Regions from separate parts of the Homo sapiens genome. Here region 1 is linked to region 2. The links are contacts of gene promoters, found by promoter capture Hi-C in human tissues and cell types (Jung and others, 2019). All regions are on one chromosome and are shown on one strand. Each heading gives the region's core, a stretch centred on a gene start or on the middle of the fragment in contact. The rest is flanking DNA. Distances are from core to core; before and after follow the strand shown. Region 1 holds the start of GORASP2 (golgi reassembly stacking protein 2). Region 2 holds the start of DLX2 (distal-less homeobox 2).

Region 1 (3,750 bases), core at 822-3,321, 1.2 Mb after region 2:
GGGCAGAGGGTCTTAGGAAGGCAGACACAAAATTCTCCTAAACTAGATCATTACTATTTTAAAGCTCTCTTTAGTAAAAGTCTAACTAAATAAGAATTATTTCATCGTGTGCAACATTAATGCTCCAGATGCAGATTGGTAACTAAGGTTGTCCCTAGTTTTTCTAAAAATCAGATGTATAGATTAATAACACATCTGCACTACTGAATATGTATGAATGCTGTTTCACTTGACTGCACTTACATAAAGAAAATACAAACTCATTTTATGTCGGAATGCAGTCACTAAGTTGGAATCCTTTTGATGTGTATGGCTTTCTTTCAAACACGCGACTTTTTTTTTTTTTTTTTGCTTATTAACACTAATGTGTTTTACTGAGTTTCCCTGAGTGCATGTATTATAAAAATATCATGAATCCCCAAGGATTCATGACCACAATCGGTCACTGTGAGAAACAGCTGGTAATACTGGGTAACATCCCAGGGTAGAGAACTCAAAATCAGACCAGATAATAGAAAGAAAAGCACAGCTTTCACCTCACATTTGGGAACTGACAATTCTCCTTCCATTTCCTCTCTCAGTGTGGCTCTTGGGTGTTTGGTTAGCAGAAGGGGATAGGAAGATAATACGGTTTATTTATAGGCTCCCTTTTCCTTTCGGGGAAAAAAAAAATCACCCTTTCCTACTAAGAGTATGGCAGAGGAGGGATTTTTAGTGTAATGGAAAGGCAATAGACACGATAATCCGGAAGATCAGAAAGATGATCTGTCTCAGCCCTATCACATAGACAGCTGGGCAATTTAAGAATGTGTCTCACCTAAAACATGGGACCCAGGGCAGGAAATGAAGGTAGCACCAGGAAGTGCACTCTCTTACTTTCAGTGAAAACGTTCTTGCCTGTGAGGAGCTAATATTGAGTGACACTCTATTACACCCCTAAATGGCGCTACACGCTGCGGCCACTCTGTTGACTGTTCATGTTAACACTCACACAGGTGTCACAGCAAACAACCATCAATGCTACTTCTAAAGTCGCCCGGTTCCATGAGGAAAAGACCACATGCTTTGTACCACCCAGGCCCAGGCCGTTCATAGGTAGGGGCTTAGCTGACGCCTTTTGAGATACTATGTTTCTCTGCGTCCTGGAAGTTAAGCTAGGGTTGTTTTCCTTTATATACTCCGATTTTTAAAAAAAATTTCTCTGCACTACCTCTTTACCACTGTGGATCTAAACCTTATAATCTAAACCACACCCTCAGCAATCGGAACAGAACGGAAGTTCCCACTCCAGGAAATCTTGAGAAGGTTTGGGAGGGTCAGGAGTGGCACGGGAAAGGAAAAGTCTGGTCAAAATCAAGTCTGTTTAAGTCCGTCGAACCTACTTCCAGGCCATTTGGTTTTCCGTCTCCTGCCCTGCTGGTCTTTCAGGCCACTCGGCCGGCGCCGAGGTGATTTAACACCTGCCGCCGCAGGCCCCGCCTCCGGACTGCGGGTCCGGATCCCTCTCCTAGGAAAGCGCAAAGGCTGCCTTCACAGTCACCACTTTGGAGACGTTGCCTCCGCGCCCTTCCTAACTTTGGAAGCTAAAAATGAGGGGGGGTGGAGGAGAGAGAAGGCCGTGCGGAAAAAGAGCAAGGTTGTCCCCCCTTCCCAGGGCCGCCCCCTGGCCGAGTCGCCGGCAGCCGCCTCCAGCTCCAGCCCGTCCTCCTACAGCCGCGGACCCCGTGCCCAGGGCGCTCCGCGGAGGTGGGATGCGAGCGGCCTCCGGAACCAGCCTCGACCAAGGCAGCGCCCGCGACCGCCGCTCCTTCGCGGGATCGGGCCTGGCTGCCCCGTGAAGGAGCCCATGGGGGCCTCCGCCTCCCCGCGGCCGGCCCCGCCTCCAGCCCGCAGCTCCCCGGCCGCCGTCGGAGCCCTTACCCGCAGAACGTGGTAGCCCTCGGTGCCCCCGCCCGGGATCTCGACGCTTTGCGAGGAGCCCATGGCGGCGGGCGATCGGTGTGGCCGAGCCGGGCTCCGCGCTGCTCCCGCCCCCAGCGCACCGCCTGCTCTAATCCTCCGCGTAGCACTTGGGACGTGGCACTCGCTGCCGCCGGAGAGCCGGGCCGCACAGCCCGCCGGGAGATCGTCTCTGCTGCAGCCCGGGCCGCTGCGACGCCGCAGACAGCGCCACCTGCCGCGAGCCACTGGAAGGGGCCCGAGCGCTCGCGGGCCGGGAGGGCGGAGAGGGAGGGCCGGAGGAGGACTGGGAGGCACCGCGTCGTGCTCGCGAGAGAACAGAAATGCGCTTCCCCCAGCTTTGGCGCCTTGCTACGGGGCCCTGGATTGGACTAGATTTATGCAGACGCGTTCCCGCTCGCCTGAAAGAACACATACTTGGTTGCAGGTCCCCCTGGTGGCCAGAGGCGGGGAAAGGGCTGCTGATGAACAGGAGCGAACTCAACACACACCAAGCTCTCTGTTCTCCGGGTGTGTAGGTATTTTCCCAAACTGTACAGCTGAGGGGAATAGTGGCCTCCTGTGGGCTGCCTAGCATCTGCTCAGCTAAATTTTATAAAAGGAAACGCTCCCTTTATAAAACAGTAGTCTCACAGAGTCACCTACCAACTTCTTTTTTGGTTTGGGTTTGTTTTTTTTTCTTCCTCCCTAATTGTGAGAATAAGATTAGAGGATTGGTCATAATCAGAGCGATGCCAGCGTGGGAAGCACGGTTGGATTTCCCTGGCATTCCACCACCTGCTGCTGCTCGGTTCCCCGTCCTACCTCCTTCAGGTAGCCAGGTCGTATTCATGCTTATTCCGTTGTCGTATTCCGTTGCTGCTTTTGCCCCTTACGTGTACTCCCTCTGAAACCCCTAGTTGCTTTGTGGTCAGTTGGACTGATGTTGCGTCAACCAGGTATTATGTGGATTCCTATGTGATGCAATGTAAAGTACGTGCTATCGCCCATGAAGTATTCTAGCCCAAGGTGGTTAACTTGCCTCTATGGCATCTTGAGTTTGATGTTTACAGGAAGTAAGGGGAATTGAGGAGCAAGTAAAATGACACCACAGGGAACCAGGCAAATACAGGAAGTGGGCCTTCCTTCAGGACAGCTGGCCAGTTCTCTTTGTCGAGTCAGAGTCCTATGAAAGGGCCTATGCCAGATTAAAAGGAACCCGAAGAATATAACCAAGAGACACATTGCAAGGGCTTGAGTTGGGGGCCAACTTGGAGAAATAAGCGTAAAGGACATTTTTGGTTCATTTGGAGAAATTTGAATATGTACTGAGTATTAGAAGAGTAGTTATTCACATGGAAACGTGGAAATTATTGTCTTTTTTAAAAGCTGGTTACAAGACGGGATGTGTCTGTAGACAAAATGAAAAACATGTCCTCAAAATACAGATTAATATGTATGTATGCATATGAAGATGTGGGAGGAGAATATGAACCAAGGGTTACAGTGGTGATCTCTGGGTGGTGACAGAGATATTTTATTTTTTGTTTTGGCTGGTTCCATATTCTATGATGCTCATGAAGTGCTTTTGTAATAAGAAAATATTATTTAAAATTTAAAAATAATTTTCTTTGCTATCGGTAAGTGAATAGCAGATTTTTAGGAGGCCTAATAAATCCATAAATCCATAAATGAAATCTCCAGTTATTAGGCTCCTCAAGGACAGGGTCTGCAGTGGAGTTGGCTCTATGTTCTTGATATTTACCAGAATGCCTAGCAGCTAATTCAACAAATTAATACATTTAATGCAAG
Region 2 (3,517 bases), core at 960-3,459:
GAATCTCCTGCCTCGGCCTCCCAAGTAGCTTGGATTACGGGCTCCCACCAGCAAACCTGGCTAATTTTTGTATTTTTAATAGAGATGGGGTTTCATTATGTTGGCCAGGCTGGTCTCGAACTCCTGACCTCAGGTGATTTGCCCGCCTTGGCCTCCCAAAGTGCTGGGATTACAGGTGTGAGCCACCGTGCCCAGCAGGCGGTTGGATTTTTAAAATTGTCTTTTTCAGGGAATTTTTTTTCTACATTAGATCAAAGCAGCTACCACTGTGGTGACAGAAAGAGTTGGAATTTGAAGTCAAAACACCAAAAGGCGGGCAGATCACGAGGTCAGGAATTCGAGACCAGCCTGACCAACATGGTGAAACCCCATCTCTACTAAAAATACGAAAATTAGCCGGGAGTGGTGGCGCGCGCCTGTAATCCCAGCTACTTACGAGGCTGAGGCAGGAGAATCGCTTGAACCCAGGAGGTGGAGGTTGCAGTGAGCCAAGATGGCGCCACTGCACTCCAGCCTGGGTGACAGAGTGAGACTCCGTCTCAAAAAAACAAAAACAAACAAAAAAACACCAAAAGGCAATCATGTTTCAATATCAAGAGGTTGGTTTTGCAGCTGAGGCCCACAAAGTAGGCAGAGAACCGCATAAAGCAATGCAGGTGGGTGGAGGTGAGCTCCACCTCCAACGTTTCTCATAAGCTGGCGCTTTCCATCTAGGGGCCTTCCTTAACCAAAAAAAAGCTGGGAACTAAATCCAGGTAGACTTAAAGGCGCATTACCTATCTCATTATTTCTCTGTGTGAATGCTGGAGTTTTAATTACACACTTGCTTTTTATGGGGAAGAAGACCAAAGATCATATTTTTGAAGGTATCAACTTGTTTTCTATCAGACAGTTGTTTTAACAAGTTCTTTCAGCGACATGTTATGTCTTTAGGAAAGGGTGCTTCAGATGGTGCGCACTAGCACAATTTTGTGGCTTTTAATTACTATTTTGTTCTTTTGGGGGGTTTCAGAGGCTGGCGCCTGGGCGTGATTAGACCGTCTACCCCGCCCCCCGCAACCTCGCACACTGCCCACCAGGTGGCGCCACAAAGCAAGCGCTGCCGCAGGAACTTCGGACTTGGGAGTCCAGCAAGTCGTGCAGTCCATCACCGTCGGGCCAAGGTTTCCAACTACAAGGTTATAGAGACAGAGGAAGTCACCATTTCCGATTTTTTAAAAAACAGAGGGAAAAGAAAAAAATTGCAATGATAGGGTAGAACAGGGTCCTAAAATGCAAAACTGTAAAACAGGATTAAATTCAACAAACCAGATAAAACTTTTTATATTTGTTGTAAATTTACAGAGAAGTGATAAATCTAGTATCTACTTGATAAATCTATAATCTCACCTATTATCCTATTTCCTTTTTCGCAAGAGCATCGAATTTTCAAGGACAACTGGTGAACCTTTCCACCCGAAGGAGGAAGTCCTCGGGATGGCTTTCAGGGTGTCATTTACTTATCAAACGTATATAATTACTCAGAGTCTCGCGTGTCGGGAAAGTACCAGGGAAAGTGGTTTCAAATATACTATTAGCAATAATACCTTTAAGTTTATGTAGCTTCTCTTTGAAGCAACAAGGAAAACCCGTTTCAATATTATATGATTAATTGTCCTAATATCCCTGCGGATTGGTTAAGAAGCGAGCATTACACGTGGTTTGTGGATAATTAAATCAATTGATTATGTCAAGTGCCGAGTGGCTAACAAGAATAAATGCCAGACACTTCGAGGAAAAGTGAAGATAGAGCTGGCTGGACTCTGGGCACCGATGTACTTTAATGTGTTTGAAAACTGACCTCGGACATGAAAGTACGAATCACTGGAACTGGCACTTGCTCACAGAATGGGAGAGGGGACCCCACTTCTTCCTCTGAGGCAAAACGCCAGTCTGTCTCCACGCCTTCTGTCTTCCTGCTGCGGGCCACCCTGACTCCTCGCTACCTCGACCCCTCGCCTCGCTGCTCACATTCGGCGGCAGTCTGTTTGCACCTGGGGCCGCTGCAGCCGCAGCCGCAGCCACAGCGCCCACCATGTGACGCCCGCCCCTTGGCCGGGCGTTCCCGGAGCTCCGCGGCCGTTTGCTTCTGATTGGCTGTTGCTAGGTGACGTCGCCAGCGCTCACGTGACGAGTGTTAAATGCCCACACTTCAGGAGCCCGCCTGGCAGACAATCGTAAAGCCGCTCGGGGCCGCTCACCTGCTCCCGCCTCCCAGAGCCCCGACCCGGCCCAGCCACCCCTGCCCCCTCCACTGCCCGCCCCCCGCCAGAGCCCGCGCTCGCGCTGGGCAAGGAGCCGAGCGGGCCCAGAGGCCGAAAGAGGATGCGACCAGAGGCAGCTGTCCCGAGCAGCGCACGGTGATCGCCTCCCCCGGAGGAGGAGGCGCCTAGACGGTTGCCTCCTTTCTTGTTTCCCCACCACCACCCCCGTAATTACATTGGCTGCTGGAGGGGACCGGGAGAGACAGAGGAGGCGCCTGGCTTCCCCCGCACGCCCGCCACCTCTGCTCTTTCCCGTCTCGGGCCAGGATGACTGGAGTCTTTGACAGTCTAGTGGCTGATATGCACTCGACCCAGATCGCCGCCTCCAGCACGTACCACCAGCACCAGCAGCCCCCGAGCGGCGGCGGCGCCGGCCCGGGTGGCAACAGCAGCAGCAGCAGCAGCCTCCACAAGCCCCAGGAGTCGCCCACCCTTCCGGTGTCCACCGCCACCGACAGCAGCTACTACACCAACCAGCAGCACCCGGCGGGCGGCGGCGGCGGCGGGGGCTCGCCCTACGCGCACATGGGTTCCTACCAGTACCAAGCCAGCGGCCTCAACAACGTCCCTTACTCCGCCAAGAGCAGCTATGACCTGGGCTACACCGCCGCCTACACCTCCTACGCTCCCTATGGAACCAGTTCGTCCCCAGCCAACAACGAGCCTGGTATGCATAACGCTGAAGTCAAGAGTGCCGAGTCGGTCTAGTTAATGGGATGGATGGGTAAACGTGTTTGGGGCGGGGGGCCTTCGAAAGCTCTGGATTTTCACGCTGCCTGCTCACCGCCCGCTTGTGCCCTTTACCCTCCCCAGCCTCCAATCTGCCGCAGGTCGCCGGTTACGTCCCTCTCTCCTTTGGTAGGACCTGGTGGCCTCAAGAGCCAAGTGGGCGTGCTCTGCCTGCCTCATAAGGGCATCTCCTTGCCACCAGCTTCTTTCTCTTGGGTGTGCACTTGTCTCCCCCTTCCCTGGAGGGTACAGCTCCCGGGGTCGGTGGCGGCTCCGATCGCACGCTGCGAAGTTGCGCCTGCCCGTGGCGCCACAGTTCAGTGCACCCACCTCTTTGCTCAAGCCAAGTCCCCCCCGCCGGGCCCTCTAGGAGGGCGGGAACTCCAGGACCCCTGGGTTGCGCTGTTCTTACGATTCTTTATCGTTGCAGAGAAGGAGGACCTTGAGCCTGAAATTCGGATAGTGAACGGGAAGCCAAAGAAAGT

The links. The method cuts DNA at HindIII sites, captures the fragments that hold promoters and counts their contacts. A contact is called where the count stands out against the background at its distance.
Region 1: the fragment with the promoter of GORASP2 here is called in contact with the fragment with the promoter of DLX2 in region 2 in 1 of the 25 tissues and cell types used here (lymphoblastoid cells).

Annotation. Positions count from the first base shown.
Region 1 is chr2:170,927,574-170,931,323 of GRCh38, reverse strand. It overlaps GORASP2 (golgi reassembly stacking protein 2), which reads right to left and starts at 2,071. Exons shown (of 10, transcript NM_015530.5): 1 at 1,921-2,071. The coding sequence starts at 1,983. RefSeq lists a silencer at 1,593-2,292. The HindIII fragment of the contact is 18,146 bases long and covers 1-3,750 here.
Region 2 is chr2:172,101,592-172,105,108 of GRCh38, reverse strand. It overlaps DLX2 (distal-less homeobox 2), which reads left to right and starts at 2,209. Exons shown (of 3, transcript NM_004405.4): 1 at 2,209-2,970; 2 at 3,463-3,517. The coding sequence starts at 2,571. It overlaps DLX2-DT (DLX2 divergent transcript), which reads right to left and starts at 2,103. Exons shown (of 5, transcript NR_126376.1): 1 at 1,841-2,103; 2 at 1,077-1,171. RefSeq lists a silencer at 2,208-2,407. The HindIII fragment of the contact is 12,259 bases long and covers 1-3,517 here.